Regions from separate parts of the Homo sapiens genome. Here region 1 is linked to region 2. The links are contacts of gene promoters, found by promoter capture Hi-C in blood cells and fetal thymus (Javierre and others, 2016). All regions are on one chromosome and are shown on one strand. Each heading gives the region's core, a stretch centred on a gene start or on the middle of the fragment in contact. The rest is flanking DNA. Distances are from core to core; before and after follow the strand shown. Region 1 holds the start of ZNF749 (zinc finger protein 749). Region 2 holds the start of ZNF382 (zinc finger protein 382).

Region 1 (5,544 bases), core at 2,815-5,314, about 21 Mb after region 2:
TGGGCCTGAGAAATTTTGTTTTCTTTCTTTTCTAATGCATCTCTTAAATTAACAGTTTTTGTTTTCTTTTCAACTGAAATGTTCCTCCTAGTAGCCACTGAAGGCAAAAATTATCCGGGTGAAGTTATGCCACTTAGAAACCTAAACACTAGAATTGTGATTGTAATCAGAGTACATATAACATGCAGGAGACTTTCCTGGAAAGGAGACGATTTCAATTTAGACGATCCAATAAGTGCTGGCACTGTCTGAGAGGAGTGTAATGATTATGTACCTTAGGCCTGGTTCTACAGCATGATAGGTGGCTACTTCCCCACAAGAACACGACAATCTTCACACCTCAGCATGCAGAAAATCTGAGAATACTCTTTCTGAATGAATGCCTAATTCTCTGGACAAAAAAGAAAAAAAAAAAAGAAAAAGAAGATAAGAGAATCTTATCCCATTTTATCAGTGACCCAAAGCAAAGTCTGTCCAAATGGTCACCAGTCTGTTGAGAATCAGAAAACCCTTGGTCTGTGATATTAGCTGAAACAAGTCACTAGAGCCTATGCTTGAGTTTTTTTTGTTTTTGTTTTTTTAACGGAGTTTCACTCTTGTTGCCCAGGCTGAAGTGCAATGGCGTGATCTTGGCTCACTGCAACCTCTGCCTCCTGGATTCAAGCAATTCTCCTGCCTCAGCATCCCGAGTAGCTGGGATTATAGGCGCATGCCTGGCCAATTTTGTATTTTTTAGTAAAGATGGAGTTTTTAGTAAAGATGGGGTTTCTCCATGCTGGTCAGGCTGATCTCGAACTCCGGACCTCAGGTGATCTGCCTGCCTCGGCCTCCCAAAAGGCTGGGATTACAGGCATGAGCCACCGCGCCCAGCCTATGCTTGAGTTTTACCCTATTATTATCCTCTTCATGACAATGCTTTAAGAAAGTACATCACTAAACTGTTACATATAAGATAGCAAAAAGAGATGAAAAGAAATGGTGTGATACTATCAAGGATGGCAATGTCACGGGAGCCAATTAAAAAAAAAAAGGAGGCGGGGCGCGGTGGCTCACACCTATAATCCTAGCACTTTGGGCGTCTGAGGCAGGCAGATCACCTGAGGTCAGGAGTTCGAAACCAGCCTGGCCAATGTCTCTACTAAAAATACAAAATTAGCCAGGTGTGGTGGCACGAGCCTGTAGTCCCAGCTACTCGGGAGGCTGAGGCAGGAGAATTGCTTGAACCTGGGAGGTGGAGGTTGCAGTGAGCTGAGATCCTGCCATTGCACTGCAGCCTGGGCAACAGAGTGAGACTCTGTCTTAAAAAAAAAAAAAAAAAAAAAAAGGTGGGGGGGACTAAACAGAGTCTAAATAGCCAAGAAACCCAGTGCAAAGACAGTAGTGTTCAAACTTGTTGCTAACTTAACATGTCATCATGGATTTGACAAGGTGTGAAGAGCAAAGCATAAAGGACCTCTGTGGTTACTATACCTGTTTGATGACTATGGCCCATGGTGATGAACAGGTTAGACGTTATTTCACTGGGACCTCTGTAAGTATGATACATTGTAACATAATTTCTACAATGGTCACATCTAATTATATCAATCCTTTGTTCACTGCACCTTCATTAGTAAGAAGTATGCTTAATGGTAGCATTCATGGACTGCAAACAGACAACTTGGAAATAAATGAAGACCCAAATGAGAACAAACATAGCCTATTAAATCAGACCACACCGTAGTAAAGGAGTCATCCACAATCTCTTGCACTCAGCAGAGCTTGAAAGGCAAGCAGAGGTGTAAAAAGCTTCATAGTAGATAAAAGGTAAAGTATTAGGTATGCCATGACTGGAGGCTATAGTCTTGAGGAGTGTGTGTGTGTGTGTGTGTGTGTGTGTGTGTGTGTGTGTGTGAAGGGGTTATTTAGAAGGTTGACATCCTATGTGATTGGCTAGTGATGCACTGACTTTCTCCAGTTGGTCCTAAGTTGAACATATGGGCAACAATTAGAAAGCTGTCAGTTCTTAGTCATGTCTTAGCCATTTTAAGCGAGTTGTTATGTGGGATGTTGTCTGGCTTCCTGGCCTTGTTGCTAGACATAGTATTCTGACTTGGGAGTGGTTACTGTAGATACCACATTAGATTTCTGAATGGGTTGGTGTAGATTATGGGTCAGAGTCAATTTTTATATTTGGTGTAGCCGTTGTCCATTTGTATAGCAAATTTCTCACACCTAAATAAGGAACTATCCACGTTAGTGGGATTTCTTATTTTTAACTGGTTATGTTGAAAATTAGTTTAATATTCATTAATTTCCCACAACCCTTTCAAAGGTTTGTTTTTGCCAGACCTTCAGTTGGGCAGAGTTAATTTTTCCTTTTTTTTTTTTTTTTAAACTGGTTGGCAAACTAAATTGTAACGCTTTGGCCAAAAAATAGCCCTTTCCTTTTCTGAATATAAAGAGAATGGGTTTTAATTTTTGGTCTTTTCTTTGTTCTTCCTTCACTAATCCTGCAGAAGAGACCATAAGGCATTATCCAAATCTTCATTTGTTGGGGGCATGGTTTTCAGGTAGTATTGCCACCACCTGATGGCAATACTATTGCTACTCAATTTTTCTCTCACTGCTACTCAATTGCAGTGAGAGAAAAATAGCTCTAAATGCCGACTTTTTGTAGTGCATTGTAAAAAGCTGAATAAAGCCAGGGACGGTGTCCTGTACCTACAGTCCCAGCTGCTCTAGAGGCTGAGGTGGGAAGATAGCTTTAGCTCAGGAGCTGAGGCCTTATCATAAGGCCTTATAAGACTACCTGGAGGCTTCATCTGCATGATATAACCTTGGTCTTCACAACCCCTTGTCTTTTTTTGTTTTTGAGACGGAGTTTCGCTCTTGTTGCACGGGCTGGAGTACAATGGCGAGATCTCGGCTCACCGTAACCTCCGCCTCCCGGGTTCAAGCGATTCTCCTGCCTCAGCCTCCCGAGTAGCTGGCATTACAGGCATGTGCCACCATGCCCGTCTAATTTTGTATTTTTAGTAGAGATGGGGTTTCTACATGTTGGTCAGGCTGGTCTCGAACTCCCAACCTCAGGTGATCCGCCCACCTCGGCCTCCCAAAGTGCTGGGATTACAGGCGTGAGATACCACGCCCGGCCCACAACCCCTTAACCCAGACAACCATTTCTACTGATTCCAGGTCTTTAGATACAAACTCTTTCAACCAATTGCCAATCGGAAAATCTTTGAACCCACCTGACCTGGAAGCCCCGCCCCTCCCTTCCAGTTGCGCCTTTCCAGAGGAATCCAATGTACATTTTACATGTATTGATTGATGTCTTACGTCTTCCTAAATTGTTAAAACCAAGCTGTAGATGGGCCACCCTGGGCATATGTTCTTAGGATATCTTGGAGCCGTGTCATGGGCCATTAGTCACTCATATTTGTCTCAGAATAAATCTCTTCAACTATTTCACAAAGTTCCACCCTTTTCGTCGACAGAAAGATATTCCTCCTTCAACTCTCCATCACATCCTGTGTGGGTCTTTTCTTTCTTGTCCCAACAGAAGCACACTAACGATCAAAAAAAAGTCTCCAGAGCCTCAGTATGTGTGTACTTGACAAGCACAAAAGAGCTGACCGCTATGAATGGAGGACCAGTTCATTATGGTCAGCCATGTCGCTTCTGATGTTCTTCCTTTCGGGACTTGCTGTGCTTCAGAGAATCTGAAACGACAGGTCTCTGAAATATTTCTCAGACTTGTCCTAGACTGCTCTCCGGGAAAATCTGGTTACTTGCAGTTTAGGAGTCAGCAAAGCCCCTCCACGTCCTTAAGAGCCCCGGAACTGCATTTCTTAACGCTCCTCCAGGAGCCTCCAGCTTTTTTCCGTAAGGTCCGCGCGCCCAGCATTGTGAGGCGAGGCAGGCAGCAGCGTGGGAACTACATTACCCAGAAGACACTGCGGGCGACACAGGCAGCAACGTGAGAACTACATTACCCAGAAGACACTGCGGGGGCAGGGCAGCGAGTGTAGCCATTGGTCTAGCAGAGAGACGACTAATGAGGTCTCAATTGTGTGGGCGGGACTTCTGGCGGCGCCCTCATGGTTGCGTTAGCATGGCTACCTAGGGATCTGTTCACTGATTTAGAGGGTCCCAGAGCTCTGGGTCGGGACTGAGGTGAAAGAGCGGAAAAACGCGAGAAGCGGTGTTCCTTCTACACAGAGGCTAGAGTGCGGATCGGCTGAGTCGGCTGCAGGCGCCCCTGCCTCCGTCAGCGTCCAGGTGACCGCCGTTCCCGCCCCGCTCTTCCCTGGGTGGACTGGAGGAGGCCGCGCCGATGAACCTGACCGAGGTGCGTGCAGCGTCCCAGGCCGCCCCGCCCAACCCCTCCTCCCAGTGCTGAAGTCCCAAGGAGCCGCCCTGCAGGTTAGGCCCTTGTGTCTCTAAGAGAGGGGCGTTCTTGTGTGGGGTGCCCGGGACTGGGACTGCGGTGCGATGAGGCGGGGGAGCTCCCGTCGGAGACCGACACGTCTCTGGGGCTTGGAGGCACTGCAGAACGGGCGGCACTGGGGAGCCCGAGCGTCTTTGTCTCCAAGGAGCAGAGGTTGAGGCGGAGTCTCCCCTGGAAGGGCAGTGGAGCCGCAGAGAGCCATAGAGGGCTGTGCAGGGAGGACGAATGGGAGGGTCACGCCCAGAGTTAGAAGTTTAAAGTTGGGGAAAACAGGATGTTGAACGGGGGCAGGGGGACCGCTGAGGAGACCCCTTGAGTTATGGTAGGGCTGGGCCAGAGGGGTTGCAGTAGAGGGGAGATGTGATGAGACTCTGGATGGATCTCAGAGATAGGGTCAACAGGATTTCCTGCTGCATCAAACATAGCTGTGAGGGAAAGTCGGTAGTGAATGGTGTCTTCCATAGGTTTTGTTTTGGCCTGAAAAATCTGAAAGAATGGAATTAGAGATATCAGCTTAAGGAGCGGGTTTCAGACAGAAGATCCTGGGTTGGATTTTGGGCGACATCACATGGGTAGGTGGACGTAATTTCCAAAGGTGAGGGAAGGTAGCTGGCCTGGAGCTTTAAATGAGTTAGAAGTTGTGCACTTGAGAAGTTGGCCTGTGGATCAGATTGAGAAGGAAGAATCCTACATCGTTTTTTCATATGGGCTGAGGTAGGGGAGGGCTCAGATTTGGAGGAAAGACCATGGTAGGGAGGGCATCTCTGATACTCCCTGCAGAAGGGAGCAGATATGGGCTAAGAGTCTGGTCTGTTTCTGTTGAAAAAGAGGCCTGGATGGATAAGGAGTTGCCCTGGAATACAGAGACTGAGGCATGAGATAATTGTAGTCACTCCACCCTTCTAACTCAGCTGGCCCTGAGGGCCACTCTTTAGGGAACAAGATAAGGCCATGCAGCAACTGGGTCCAAAACTGGGCAGGGCTTTCTCACATCCTCCACCACAGTTAAGGGCCTCCAGCAAGCTCCCTTTACTGCATTATATGGCAGGCTGACCTGTTTGCTGAACGGACCAGTAACTGATTGACTGCTCAGCCCCATCCTACAACTCATT
Region 2 (5,232 bases), core at 577-3,076:
ATGCATTTCATAAAACAAAGAAAAAAATCAAAATGACCTCCAGCTTTGCTTTAAAATGTGCAACTACAATGCTTTTCTTCTCTCAGAGCTCTTCTCTTGGAATACAGCAAAATGTGGAAAGAAAGGGAATCACAATATACTCAGCCTTTCTTGGAGCCCAGACAGGCTAAATAAGAACACATTCTTCACCACCGGCAAGCTTCCATAACCCATGCTGAATATGACCAGATGGAAGTATGAGAAAGACTGGAATATTGTTGACTCTTCCCTTCATAAAGAAAAGTCAGGTTCACCAAAGCCTGGGACTGAAATGTTTCTGTATTCACAATAATTTCCTTTAGACAGCTATGAAAATGCTGTGGATCTGCAATATTCAACTTGCCCCCACAGAGCTTCCAAAAGGGATCTTTTGGCTAGGCACGGTGGCTCACGCCTGTAATCCCAGCACTTTGGGAAGCCGAGGCGGGTGGATCACCTGAGGTCAGGAGTTCGAGACCAGTCTGACCAACATGGTGAAACCCCGTCTCTACTAAAAATACAAAAATGAGCCGGGCATGGTGGTGCATGCCTGTAATCCCAGCTACTCGGGAGGCTGAGGCAGGAGAATTGCTTGAACCCGGAAGGCGGAGGTTGCAATGAGCCGAGATTGCGCCACTGCACTCCAGCCTGGGCAACAAGAGCAAAACTCCATCTCACACACACACACAAAATCTTTGGAGAAACGAATCCTACTCCTGGGGCCTCAATATCATATCTTCCCAGAACCTTGCCTTGGGAGCAATTCCAGCTCTAACATCTCCATATCAAACACGAGGCTGTGCATATCAGAACACAGCCTTGTCCATGTGAAACACAAGGCTGTGCTTTTTCAGTTGGAAACTTCATTCTGGATCTCAAATATCCAACTTTCTTTTCGATAGCCATTTGACTGCACACTGTGCAACGTGGTTATAAGGTGAAATGACTGAGGCAGTGAAAGAAATCCCAGTATAACAAACTCCAAGAAACCACGTAACTTAAAATTGGCCCCAGAGGTTGGCGAGGCTGCATGCCACTGTGTATTATGCATTATGAAAGCGACAGGGGCCATGCTTTAGAACAGAAGGTCTCAGAGTCTTCACAGACACAGATCGAGCCATACGGGGACCTTGTCCACGTATTCCTGAGCCCCAGAACTGCAGAAATCAAACTCTACAAAAGCTGCACCAGGCCAGTTTTGATCACAGTCTCCAGTGGGTCACAACAGCGCTGTCACAGGATCACTGATAACAGCATGACACATTCATAGTCACCGCTCAGCGCCGTCACACAAACGGCCCCGCCCCCACTCAGTCCCGCGGGCCCAATCGGGGACAGTCAGGGCTGTCCCGGGCTGTGCACCTGCTGTGCACACACACCCCCTGCTGTGCACACCCCCCGCCCCCCCGGGACCATCACAGGCGCGCCCACTCACACCACCACACACGGACGCAGCCACAGAACGGCACACACAAACACAATCACACAGTCTCCCTCCCCAGCAGGTGACTTGCACACAGGCCTGGGGCTTCTGCCTCCACAAACCCTCTCCGCGTCCCATGAACCCAGGTCCCCTGCCGTGAGCTCTTCTCGCATCCAGACCCGGGTCACCTCAACTCACCACATGGAAAACGAACACCAGGTCAACGGAAAAGGGAGCCGGGGTCCTGGCAGAAGCGTAGTGCCAGCCGCAATAGGGCGGCCGTGGGTGCAAACGGAGGGGAGCGCCGGCAGCTAGCACCGCGCGGCGACTAACGGGCCGCCCCGGAGACTCCTGGGAGCTCAGGCCCACGCGCGAGTGCGCAGGCGCAGACGACTCACCCTGGGCCGGGGGTGAGGCTTGGTGGGTGCCAGGGGTGCTGAGGAGGCCAAGGAGGGCACTGGGAGCTCCGTTCCGGGAGAGCTGTCTAAGGACGCGGAACCGGGTGGGGAGGCCAGGGAGGTAACCAAGAGTCCGAGCCGGGCCTGGAAATTCTGAGGAGGAAACCGGGACCGCGGTATCCAGACGCTCCGATCTGTACGAGCCGGGCCTCGGGCGTGGTCCATGGGCGTGACCTTGAGGGTGACCCGGAGCGAGCTCCGCGAAGGGGGATTTTGCCCGTTCTGATCCCGCGGAAGCGCCATCGCTGGCGGCGGGTCCCCGCGCGGAGCGGGCGCTGTGTGTTCGCGCGCGCGGGCGCGCGCTGAATAGGGGTGGCCTCCTGCGCCCAACCTGCTGCATTTTAGGTGCTTGCCTCTCTTTGGGATGTTGTGGCCGATTGTGTGTGAAAAGTGAACGGAGTAGTGTTGCTGCGCGAGGTTTCCTCTGCGTGTGTCTATTTTTAGATTAGGTGTGAGTCGCATTTGAGACTGCCTTTGAGTGTGGAGAATTGCAAGTGATTTGTAGGTGTGGTTGTGACTGCCTGGAGTCGTGTTAGCTGCTGTCTGAGGTTGTGAATGACAAGTGGGGCCTGTAGGTTGGTGGTTCTCTGAAGGATGTTTGATTGACTGTGACTCTGCATGTGTTTGTAACCTACTGTTACTTCTGGTGGTTTTGTGGCCTTAGTGACCTAAATATTTGAATGATTGAGGAACTCTGTTATGACCATGGCTAGTTGGTTATGTAAGACTTGATTATCTGAATAGTAGCCATTAAGCCTGCCTCCAAAACTGTAACTAAGTAGCAATTTAGCAAATAAAATAGAGATAACAGTATCAGAGGGGAAGAGATGATTTTCATAATTCCCAGATTCATTTCCTGGAAACACCATATTAACTAAAACCAGTATGTTGAAATGAATAGCATTCCATTGGGGACATGCAGGAAATTTTTTTTTTTTTTTTTTTTTTACCATAACTACCACTTTTGTTGTTGTTTTTTGTTTGTTTTAAGACAAGGTCTTGCTCTTTTGCCCAGGCTGGAGTGTAGTGGCATGATCTCTGCTCACTGCCACCTCTACCTCTGAAGTTCAAGTGATTCTCCTGCCCCAGCTTCCTGAGTAGCTGGGACTACAGGCTTGTGCCACCACGCTCGGCTAGTTTTTGTATTTTTAGTAGAGATGGGGTTTCACCATGTTGCCCAGGCTGGTCTTGAACTCCTGACCTCAAGTGATCCCCTCCCCCCGCCCCCTCGGCCTGCCAAAGTACTGGGATTACAGGTGTGAGCCACTGTGCCTGGCATAACTACCACTTTCAACACTTGTATATGAGTGAGGTTTCCTACTCCCTTAGGCTTGCTAAGATAATAAAAAGTATTTGATAGATTTTTAATAAGTCCAGTCTCACTGTAGTAATTAAAATAGTTATTTTGCGGGCCTGGTGCAGTGACTGATGCCTGTAATCCCAGCATTTTGGGAGGCCAAGGTGGGCAGATCACCTGAGATCGAGAATTCGAGACCAGCCTGACCAACATGGAGAAACCCCATCTCTACTAAAAATACAAAATTAGCCGGGCATGGTGGTGCATGCCTGTAATCCCAGCTACTCAGGAGGCTGAGGCAGGAGAATCGCTTGAACCCGGGAGGTGGAGGTTGCGGTCAGTCAAGATTGTACCATTGCACTCCAGCCTGGGCAACAAGAGTGAAACTCTGTCTCAAAAAAAAAAAAAAAAAAGATTATTCTCAACTACAACATAGACCAGATAGGCAAAGATTTAAAAGTTGTCAACTGTCTTCATCAGGGCTTGGGAAGGTATTCTCATCCACTACTATCAGTGTAAATTGGCAAAAAGTCCAAGAAGAACCGTTTGGAAATACACAGTAAACCTGTGGTTAGAGGTAGATGGAAGGCAGAGCTGCAGAGGGAAAAACACAGTGTTCCCTCTCTTCAAGCTAAAACAGGTTCCCCAGAATCCTGTATACTTTACCAAGAGACTGGGTTTCTGGTGTTTGTGAGGGAGCCTGATTTGTCTGTTTTCCCACTAACTACCATCCTGGACATCTGAAGGGTACACAGGGTGGACAAGTGCTGAAATAGTGAACATTCATGCAGATTTAACTGAGTTAATTCTGGGAGTTCTGAGTCAAGTATGGTCTCACATACGTATATCCTCCATCTTTGCTTTCTCAGGACTGTTTCTTTTTCCAAAAGAGGAGCTCAAAAGAGAAAGTTCATCTAGAAATCTCAAAGCCATGTCTCAGGTGAGATGATGTTTCCTCTCTTTCTGAAATAACTTTTTTTCATGGTGTATGAACATGAGCTTCACTGTCCTTTAACCTTCCCTGATATTGGGATTTGCTTCCATGAAATTAGTCTTCAGTCAGGGCCAGATTAGGCTGAGGCAGGCAAGTGGCATGAGGTGAAATATTTAAGGGGTACCCTCAGGGCTGTGCCCTCCTAAATTTTGCATTCTAGGTGCCTCACCTGCCTCACCCTGTATCCAGCCCTGTTCACAATTTCTCCATTCCAACCAAATCAACTTAAGCCTTCCCCAAGTGTACCTTCTGGTTGTACATATTCATTGGGTATATCATTCATCATCTCCTTTCTCAGTCTTCTCACAAACAAACTGCTGGAATAGAAAGGTATTGTCTTGATTTAAATGGGAATATATGGCTTGAATGAATTTAACTTGTCCTGATGCTGATTTGAGACCTAAGCTGTGAGTAGTCATGGAGCAGACGTGGAAAAACCTTGATGATCTCCGCTAGCCTAGGTTTTGCAATGGTACGTTGGGAAATAGAAGTGGTAGATCCCAGCATTAGTTTCTGGAAAGATGTCCTGCTTTGTGAGGTGTTTAGGATAGCAATTTGATTGCAGGCTTGTAAAGGAAACACGTTTTATGTTCCTCCTCTCTGATCTTTTTTCATTCATGTCTGCTAGCCATTCCTACAAATTGTGGGCTGCCAGTGAAAACCTTTCCAGTATTCCAATGCTGTTAGAGATTTGTTATTTTCTTTTTAGTTTCTTCTAATTTTTTATTTGCGGGTGCAGGAGAAGGAAATCCATATGCCAGGCCACTTTTGAAATATTCTATTGTTGATCAAACAGTACTTTGTCCTCTTTTCATATCTTTCAGAAAATTCCTCTTTAGCTCATCCACCAACCTTTAAAATACTGGTTTTCCTCAGATGCTAATTGGTTCTCTTCTTCTTCACAGTCCGTTTTTCTCTACGCACAATCAGATTCACTCTGAAGGCTACACTTAGTGTGATTCTAGTGACTCTCAAATACCCCTCTCCACTCTAGACCTCTGTCCAGAGTGTCAGAACCGAATATTCAACCTCCAGTAGCTAT

Evidence for each region. Contacts are between HindIII fragments. The CHiCAGO score rates a contact against its expected background, and 5 or more counts as called.
Region 1: the fragment with the promoter of ZNF749 here is called in contact with the fragment with the promoter of ZNF382 in region 2 in 4 of 17 cell types (non-activated CD4 T cells, activated CD4 T cells, total CD4 T cells and 1 more); the score reaches 20.8 in non-activated CD4 T cells.

What each region holds. Positions count from the first base shown.
Region 1 is chr19:57,431,261-57,436,804 of GRCh38, forward strand. ZNF749 (zinc finger protein 749) reads left to right here and starts at 4,065. Exons shown (of 3, transcript NM_001023561.4): 1 at 4,065-4,333. The coding sequence starts at 4,319. RefSeq lists enhancers at 3,650-3,949, 4,580-4,629. The HindIII fragment of the contact is 4,352 bases long and covers 1,787-5,544 here.
Region 2 is chr19:36,603,487-36,608,718 of GRCh38, forward strand. ZNF382 (zinc finger protein 382) reads left to right here and starts at 1,827. Exons shown (of 5, transcript NM_032825.5): 1 at 1,827-1,861; 2 at 4,066-4,136. It also overlaps a transcript of ZNF529 not described here. RefSeq lists enhancers at 1,099-1,238, 2,219-2,278 and a silencer at 1,799-1,858. The HindIII fragment of the contact is 5,073 bases long and covers 198-5,232 here.